2 separate regions of the Homo sapiens genome follow, and region 2 is linked to region 1. Evidence: promoter capture Hi-C in 16 types of primary human blood cells and fetal thymus (Javierre and others, 2016). All regions are on one chromosome and are shown on one strand. Each heading gives the region's core, a stretch centred on a gene start or on the middle of the fragment in contact. The rest is flanking DNA. Distances are from core to core; before and after follow the strand shown. Region 1 holds the start of NAPEPLD (N-acyl phosphatidylethanolamine phospholipase D). Region 2 overlaps PSMC2 (proteasome 26S subunit, ATPase 2).

Region 1 (4,978 bases), core at 988-3,487:
GTAGCACTTTGACCTCACACACCCATCTACTATGTCCAACTGGTCTGTCTGCTTCCCTCAGCCTTAACCAATAAAGGACAAGGACTTAAAAAAAAAGAGTGGGAGTGAGGGGAACAAAGGGCATCTTTTTTTTTTTTTTTTTTTTGAGACAGAGTCTTGCTCTGTCTACCAGGCTGGAGTGCAGTGGTGCCATCTTTGCTCACTGCAACCTCCATCTCTGGGGTTCAAGCAGTTCTACTGCCTCAGCCTCCCTAGTAGCTGGGATTACAGGTGAGCTCCACTATGCCTAGCTAGTTTTTGTATTTTTACTTGAGACAGGGTTTCGCCATGTTGGCCAGGCTGGTCTCGAACTCCTGACCTCAGGTGATCCTCCTGCCTTGGCCTCCCAAAGTGCTGGAATTACAGGCGTGAGCCACTGCGCCCAGCTTTTTTTTTTTTTTTGGGGAAATGGGGTCTTCTCTGTTGCCCAGGCTGGAGTGTAGTGGCGTGATCACAGCTCACTGCGGCCTTGATCTCCCAGGCTCAATCGATCCTCCCACCTCAGCCTCTGGAGTAGCTGGGACCACAAGGGCGGGCCATCAAGGCTGGCTACTTTTTTTTTTTTTTAATTATTATTTGTAGAGATGAAGTCTCGCTATGTTGCCCAAGTTGGTCTCCAACTCCTGGGCTCTAAGGATTCTCCTGCCTTGCCCTCCCAAAGTGCCGGGATTACTTCTCCGTTGCTTAGTCAAGAACACTATGAAGAACTTTTGAGTAGTAACTTCAACTTACCCTTTGGGTTTGTATGTATGCTGTTACTTTTTTTTTTTTCTTCTGTTGCACAAAGGTATTATTCACCTTATGCAGTTTCAGCTCCACCCAGGTGCAAGCAGCTCTTAATCACCCTTAAGTTCAGCAGCCACTCTAAGCTAGCCTGAGGAGATAAAGTCCACACTTGACATACAGTTCTTTACATTCCTCCAATGTCACACAGGCACATTCACTTTCAAAATGCAGAATAGTTTGGTCTGCATTTTTCTGCCAGTCTTATCTGCATTTAGAACCTGTGGTGGTGGTTTCTTTTTTGCCAAGATAACCCCAGGGACAAGCTTTTTTTTTTTTTTTTGACCCTGGCACACCCCAGGACTTTTATAATCTTTTTGCCCAACAACCCATTGTTGAATTTTACTTCGACATGCCTGTACTTTACTTCTTGAAACAACTAATTTCATTCTGCAGTTTAAAAAGCAAATCCAGTAAGAAACTCAGAATCACAATCGTATGCTCTTTCATAGTTATCCTAGCGTTAAAAAAGATGCAAATTTAGATGAGAACCGTGTGTACCAGGGGGCTGTGACATCATTTTAAAAGTAAACGATCACACAGTGAACAATGCCGTGCTCCCATTAATATTCAATACGTACTGTACAACATTTCAAATTAGAGTTTAGTTTCTTCGCTACCAGGATCCTAGCGCCATAGGCTGTAAGTATTCAAATGCTTCTCGACTGTGATTGAGTTGGCTATGACAGTCCGTCAATGGGTCTGCAGGATCCCATTTAGTTTTAGCAACTGTGGCTGGTGTCCAGGAATGCGTTCATGCGATCTGAAAGTAAGCCTCTGGCTTAGGACAGCGGGGGGAACCAATTTGATCTTAGGAGGGTCCCTGCAGAGTGTTTGAGTCGCGAGGCGGGCCGGGGCAGGCCGCGTGCTCCCAGGCGCTTCCTTTACCAAGATGGCTTCGGCGCCCCGGCCCACAGGGGCGGCCATCTTGGTAAGGGCTGGAGAGGCAGCCTGAAGGAGGCCACCGCTGGCCCTGCTGTCAGATTCGAAGGTCATAATAAGGGAGTGACCCGGCGACGACTCGCCCCAACGATGGCGAGGCGGCGAGAGCTGAAGCGCTGCCTGCAGCTGCTGGCGTCCTCGGCGGAGCCAGCGCGGCGGGCTCGGGTTAGGAAGAACCCGAGCGCCTGCCGCGGTCGCCCCTCCCGCTACGCGGCGGCGCTTTGCGCGGGGACTCTGTGGCCGGAAGCCGCGGAACTGAGGCGGCGCGCGCTCCCGGCCACCCCAAGCGCGAGGTGAGTCCGCACCCCCGCGCTCGCACCCCGCCGCTCTGGCCGCGCGCCCGCGGCCCGGGATCCCGAGTGTCCGGAGCTCCGTGGTTTCTGTTGGACCTCGCGGGAGGCGGTTTTCTCCCGCCTGCTGTGCTCTGTGACCTCTCTGCTGCCTCCTCCACGGTCTCTGGGCGGAGCAATCCACACTGCTGAGCCTGGGGTGGTTTGGAATTCTTCGGCGAAGTGGAGCGGGCTGAGAGTGGGTTTCCCGTCCCCGAGCCCTCCCTCATCTCGGAGATGCCGCACTTGTGAGCGACAGGGCTTCATTTGAATTTTCGCACCTCGCGAGTTGCGGAGCCTGCATCTCTGAAGCTGCCTCGGTGAAGAGCCACAGCATTATTTTTTTTCTCTTTGGGAGAGTAGCTGTCTGGGATTTGAGATCCTATCTTCCCTGCAAATTACCAGGTTGCATCTTCACTGATAGGAATACATGTGGGTTTATCTTCTTTTGGTTGTATGTAAATGAATGGGTCGACAACTTCCTCCGAGCAACTTATTGTTGCTTCATCTATAGTGTTTATCTTCTAAAAATCCATTCCAACAGGTTTCTCCCCTTTTATTTTGGAATAAGTGTACTTATTTAACTATGGAATGGAAATGAAGAGCAAAAAAAAAAATGGGGCTAGCTGGGGAGGGGTGGTGGAAGGCTGTGCTTTCTTGAGTTTTCTGTTCTGTGGTTGTTTGCTTCTTATAAATTGGGTATTATTGTGGGCTTTTCAGAACACGTATTCAGATAGGTTTTTGTTGTTGTTGTTTTGTTTGTTTGTTTTTTCCTTTTTTTTTTTTTTCAAGCTAGAGCTCGATATGGTAGATACTCTTCCATGGGTTCCGGGATCACATGCATTCATTATACGTCAGTTAAACCTGGAAAATATTAAGGGAGTGAGTAAAGTTTAACAGCCTTTTAAAAAGTCATTTAGTTCTTGTCTTTGCCTTTACTGTACGTTGTTATATATACATGTTATAATATGACTGACTCACCTGGTTGGCTTTGGCTTAGCATGAAATGTTTGCTACTTGATAATTCTGATTAATTTGTCCAGGAAGTCATTCCTGAGATGCAGTTCTTCAAATTGAGAAATAATTCCCATGTTTGTTAAAAAATGGAAATCTCTAACATTTCCATTTCTATTTTCAGTTACATTGGTTATGAATTAGCCGCAGACATGGACATCGTTTAGAAAGAAGTTATGTAATCTTTAAAAAGAAGATTACCTATATCCCACAATAGTGTGATTTTTGTTGCAAGAAAATACTGGGTCTGTTAAAGAAGAAATTTAGGGTAAAAGTACTTATTTAAAATAATAATTTAAGGAGAGATTGAGGGGTTAAATTTGTTTCAAGTCAACTGAAAATATAGTCAGGATTTTCAGAGATTTTGTTTTGTTAACATTCTGCAGGCTTTCCTGCTACAAGAATTATGGTAAGTCTCCAAGAGATAAAAATACTTAGTGTATTTCTCATACCCTTATTTTCACTCAGAATTCCAAATTATATTGTAGAAATTCTATGTTACAAAATTCTAATTTTAAAATTAGTCCAGTTATAACTATATGAAGAACATTTTAGCATAAGCATTCCATCACAGGGTTTTGGTTATACTTTAGTTGATACAGTCATTCTTGTGTTTGTTCGAAAGGGGTATTATGTTACTTTGAGTATTTGTGAGTTTGGTAAACTGAGAGGATTTTTATGAACATTTAGTCTGTGTTTGGAAAAGCAGTATTTGCCTTTAATTTTGTTGTTTCATTCTGCTTTTTCTTTGTGGTGATGGATAGCTGTGGATATAGTGAGTTTTTCCATTGCTTTCTACACTTTGTAAATAAGAATATAGCTATAGCTGGAGGACTGTTGATCTGGGCTTTTTAGGTTGAAATGCATACACATAAAAAGTGTTTTCATTGAAGTATTATTAGGGAAATGAACTGTATGTATAATTAATCGTTAAAGAGCACTTTTATTCTGGAGGCCAGTGAGGGCATGCATAAAACTGGCATTAAAATATCACCCATGTGATTTCCAGCATAAGATTCAAGTAATATTTCATTCTAACGCCTATACTACTGAATAATTCTGTCTACAATTTATAGTGCTTTGCTTGATTTGTCTTTTGAATTTATTAACCATTTATTGTGTATTTAAGTATTTTACTAACAGACTTTGGAGACAGATTGCATACGAACTCATATATCCCCAGGGGCAGTTTTATGTTAGAGATAGTCTTCTGCAACCTCAGCTGGTTAAATAATGTATTATAACTTTATCATTTACAAAGCTCTTTCAAATATTTTAAATATATGTATATATATAGAGAGAGTTTGATTTTATAGACATAAAATATGAGCCTTGTTCCACAGATGAGGAAAATAGGACACCAAGAGCCTGGGAGAGTCTGGTGATTTGGCCAAGGAACCTTAGCTCAGCAGCCCCAGCCTTCAGCAGAATATATACACTGCAGACTCTTGTTACAGCGGGGTTCCAATGAAGCGAAAGTGGAGGGGTGTGGATTAGCAAGCGTTGGTCAGCAACACACTCACAGATTGCACCCCTGCCTGTGGGTAACAGGTTGTGAATGGCCAGTGCTGTTGGCTCTGGAGGCACAGGTCTGGCATGTAGATGGATCAGCATAATTCAAAATCTTGATTGAAAAACAACTCAGTTTGTGCCTGCTACCTGGAACAATCCATTTTTCCCCTTGAAGGTGCAGACTCTTGTGTTTATCTAATTTGGGCACCTTCCCAGATTAAGGGACAGTAATATATTGATTTAACACTGAATGCCTGTAGGCTTCTGCGTGATTTTGTAATCTCTCTCAATTACAAGAATGAATAGAGAAACACCAAGCTTTCTCATTGTCACTAGCACTCTTGAACTGGTCACATCTT
Region 2 (4,401 bases), core at 712-3,211, 210 kb before region 1:
CAGTCCGATTAGCAACTGCCCGCGCACAGAGTGTCTTGCCTGTACCGGGTGGACCAAAGAGCAGCACGCCCTTGGGAGGCTCAATGCCAAGGTTCACAAACCTCTCTGGCTGTGATAGAGACACAATTTTCACACTTACCACTTCTGTATAACAAAAATCAGACTACTTCTAAATCAACAAAGTGCTTTTATGTTTAGTATTTTATCCTGAAAACCATACTTTAATATTTAAATCAAAATTATTAAGTCCACAATATACATACTTGAACTAAATAAGAAATTTTACTTATTCTAAGACATAAGTTCTAAACTGGACTTCTATCAATACATAAGACTAAATGGCTTTTAAAAAGCACTTCCATTATCCAGTCTTAAAATATTTTCCTAATTTAAAAAAAATTATGGTGTTTAAGGAACAAAATTATCTGGTATTCAGTATCCTAGTTTTCCATTATCCTCCCAAGTTTAACCTGCTTCAATTTAAGCCCCTTTCTTCTCGATGTCTTTTGAAGAACCAGTTTCTTCTATAATAGCCTGTAACATATTTAACATATTGCTAAAGGTTACACTGTGCCTCCTCTGTCACTGTAAACAGCAGATCTTTCTTTTTTAAATATACCTGACCACTCAATCCTTTTTGCTTGCTCTCCCCTAGAACTTACCAACTCTCCACACCTCCTCTCTCCACCCTCTCAAAAAACTCTCATTAGGGAAAATATTAAAAGCCATCTAATATACAAGCAATTTTAGTGCTCAATACACAAAAGACATCTTTATACAAAGAAATTTAAATACAACACTCAGCTACTTACATGAAGTAATGGGGTTTCAACTACTTCTCGCAGTTTCTCAATCTGTTCCTTACAGCCACCAACATCACTGTATGTGACATCAGGTTTCTCTTCCACCTAAGAGAGGGACAGAAATGTACAACATACAGTCACAGGCTTTTTGGATACTGTCCAAATTCAATAGAATAGACCTAATACCTTAAAAGAAAAACTCACAAGTGAGAATTTTAATAAAAATTGAATACATTGCCCAGTGCCCTGGAACTACTTGCTGTATTAACTTGTTATGACACTAATGAATGAAAAACAAACTAGTAAAATAAAGACAGGCTGAGACTCTGTCTCAAAAAATATATATATAAAATACTGCCGGGCTCAGTGGCTCACGCCTGGAATCCCAGCACTTTGGGAGGCTGAGGCAGGCCAAACACTTGAGGTCATGAGTTCGAAACCAGTCTGGCCAACATGGTGAAACACCGTCTCTACTAAAAATACAAAAATTAGCTGGGCGTGGTGGCGGGTGCCTGTAATCCCAGCTACTCGGGAGGCTGAGGCAGGAGAATTGCTTGAACCCGGGAGGCAGAGGTTGCAGTGAGCCAAGATCACACCATTCTACTCCAGCCTGGACAAGAGTGAAACTCCGCCTCAAAAAAAAAAAAAAAAAAAGACATAGCCTTCCTTTTCCCTCCCATAGTTTCTTACCTGCATCATGGTAACTGTTGGGTCAATCTTAGGAGGCAATGGAATGTGAATTTGATATTTATTTCTATCCACGCTAAGGAAGTAAAAAAGATAGTCATTAATACATTCTTTAAGCTTTCAAAGTGCTTTTATGTTTAGTCCTTTATCCCCAAAACCATACTTTAAGAAAACAAGAGAGAGACAGAGTCCCTAATTATATAAAGAGAAATAAAGAGAGCATGAAATCTGAGGATACTAAACTACATGTCTAATGTCGCAAACAACCTATCCAACAGCAATCAAACCTTTGAGGAGGGAGGGGAGATTTTTTTTTAATTTACTAAGTGAGTTGTTATGTATTCTATAGACATTAACACACTTAGCATCACAACTATCCTAAAGCAAGTACTCCCCCAACCTATACCATGTTACCTTAAATGGACTGGTAACCTCAACTCTGAAATTTGAAGCCATTCATAATAAACAACAGTGGGAGTAGGGGAGTCAGCGAAGCCGATGGGAAGTTAGGAAGCAGATGCAGAAGACAGAATTTTCAACTATAGTACATTACTAGATCATCCTTTGGTATTCCAAGGAACTCAGTCCATTTATTCACTACAAAGCCAAGGATATGAATGTGAGACAGTATCCTTAGTGAAAGAAAAGTATTTATTGTAAATAGAAATCTTACCCCACTCTCATCCCTTCTTCAATGTCAGTAGGTGCCACCTGATCACTAAGGTCCACCACAAACTTGGCAAACTGCTTTACGTTGATAATGTATTTTGGGTCCTCCGAATCAGCATTGATTATCTTTGTACACCTAACACAGCAAAAAGCTTGATTAGAATAAGGAACCTAAGCCACTAATAATGAATTCAACTAACTAGATTATATCCTGAGTGTGCAATATACAGGTATAAACTAGAACTACAGAAACTGGGACACTGTTAAAGATCCTTTTCTATACCCAACTCCAAAGGTCCATTCGACTTTAGCCAAGTCATAAAATTTTCAAATACATTCTCCTGGAAAATTAAACCCAAATATCTCATCATTAAGAAGTTCTCTGATTTCTTGATTTCCATAGTTTGTATTCCTTTATTATTAGTGATGCTCCTGTATATCTTAAGTTGCTCTCGTTTTTATTTTCCCTACAAAAAGATGGTCATCTTGTCTTACACCAAATTCAGTAATAAATGGGTTTTCATTCTTTTCCTGAGTTTATACTTTAAATCCGTTTTTCTTTTTTTTTTTTTTTTTTTTTTTGAGATGGAGTTTCACTCTTGTTGCCCAGGCTGAAACACAATGGTGTGATCTTGGCTCACTGCAACCTCCACCTCTTGGGTTCATGCAATTCTCCTGCCTCAGCCTCCCGAGTAGCTGGGATTACAGGCATGCACCACCATGCCTAGCTAATTTTGTATTTTTTTTTTTTTTTTTAGTAGAGAGGGGGTTTCTCTTGAACTCCCAACCTCAGGCTAGTCAGGCTGGTCTCGAAATCCCAACCTCAGGTGATCCGCCCGCCTCAGCTTCCCAAAGTGCTGGGATTACAGGCGTGAGCCACCACACCCGGACTTTAAATCCATTTTTATTGTTTTTGCTACTTTTTTCTTTTTTTAACTGAGGCAGTAGAAGCTTGTTTTTTTTTCTTTTTCTTTTTTTTGAGACAGAGTCTTGCTCTGGAGCCCAGACTGGAGTGCAGTGGTGCGATCTCGGCTCATTACAATCTCCGCCTCCTGGGTTCAAGCAGTTCTCCTGCCTCAGCCTCCCAAGTAGCTGGCATTACAGGAATGCGCCAGCACGCCCGGCTAATTGTTTTGTATTTTTAATATATACGGGGTTTCACCATGTTGGCCAGGCTGGTTTCAAACTCCCGACCTCAAGTGATCCACCTGCTTCGGCCTCCCAAAGTGCTGGGATTACAGGCGTGAGCCATTGCACCCGGCCAGTAGAAGCTATTTTTAACTTAATTATATTCATTTCCATATGGCCTGGTAAAAATGAATTTATAATGCCATGCACATCACAGTATAAAATAGTCAACCGCCTTTCCCCTTCTATAGTATCTATCTACTAAAGAAAAACAAAAACAAAAAACAGAACTCACATTAGAAAGCTGCTACATAAGCCACAGCAAGAATTACAGAGAAATACAAAAATAGCCTGTGGAGTGCGCACATAGGTAGAGCTAAAAGTAAGGTACAGAATGCTTTGGCTTAGCCAGGTGTGGTGGGATGCACCTGTAGTCCCAGCTACTGAGGAGGCTGAGGCTGGAGGATCACTTGAGCCCAGGAGGTCAAGGCTAAAAAAGAATGCTTTGTCCTGATAGCATAATTGTGTGAAGGACTCTGTTTTCTGTTACCAACCATGTTTGCTAGGGAAGAAGAATTATACCCATTCTCTACCAAAAAAAAAGAGGCTGACCAAAAAACCTGAAAGGAAAAACAAGAACAACAAACAGCAATAATACCAAACCCTGGGGAAAGGAAGAATTTGATTTCCAGAGGTGACACATTACATTATTTTAAATGTCTAGTTATCACCAAAAAGTTATGAGATGCAAAACATTATGAAATGCATTTTCCCTTATGTATGACATTATGGCTCATACATAAGGGGAAAAAAATCAGTCAATAGAAATTGTCCCTTAAGAAGCCTAGATGTTGGTGTTATTAAACAAAACTTTTTTTTTTTTTTTGAGACGGAATCTCACTGCTGCCCAGGCTGGAGTGCAGTGGCGCGATCTTGACTCACTGCAACTTCCGCCTCCCACGTTCGAGCAATTCTCCTGCGTCAGCCTCCTAAGTGTCTGGGATTACAGGCGCCTGCCACCACGCCCAGCTAATATTTTTATATTTTTAGTAGAGACAGGTTTCACCATGTTGGCCAGGCTGATCTCAAACTCCCAACCTCAAGTGATCCACCT

Evidence for each region. Contacts are between HindIII fragments. The CHiCAGO score rates a contact against its expected background, and 5 or more counts as called.
Region 2: a fragment that was not itself captured here is called in contact with the fragment with the promoter of NAPEPLD in region 1 in 1 of 17 cell types (erythroblasts); the score reaches 5.1 in erythroblasts.

Annotation. Positions count from the first base shown.
Region 1 is chr7:103,146,358-103,151,335 of GRCh38, reverse strand. NAPEPLD (N-acyl phosphatidylethanolamine phospholipase D) reads left to right here and starts at 2,237. Exons shown (of 5, transcript NM_001122838.3): 1 at 2,237-2,525. It overlaps LOC105375434, which reads right to left. Exons shown (of 3, transcript XM_047421168.1): 2 at 772-2,318. The coding sequence ends at 1,516. The HindIII fragment of the contact is 3,849 bases long and covers 1,091-4,939 here.
Region 2 is chr7:103,359,851-103,364,251 of GRCh38, reverse strand. It overlaps PSMC2 (proteasome 26S subunit, ATPase 2), which reads right to left. Exons shown (of 12, transcript NM_002803.4): 5 at 2,164-2,295; 6 at 1,494-1,566; 7 at 813-908; 8 at 1-109. It also overlaps a transcript of SLC26A5 not described here. Among named protein-coding and RNA genes, the nearest start is that of PSMC2, 14 kb to the right of the region's middle. The HindIII fragment of the contact is 704 bases long and covers 1,610-2,313 here.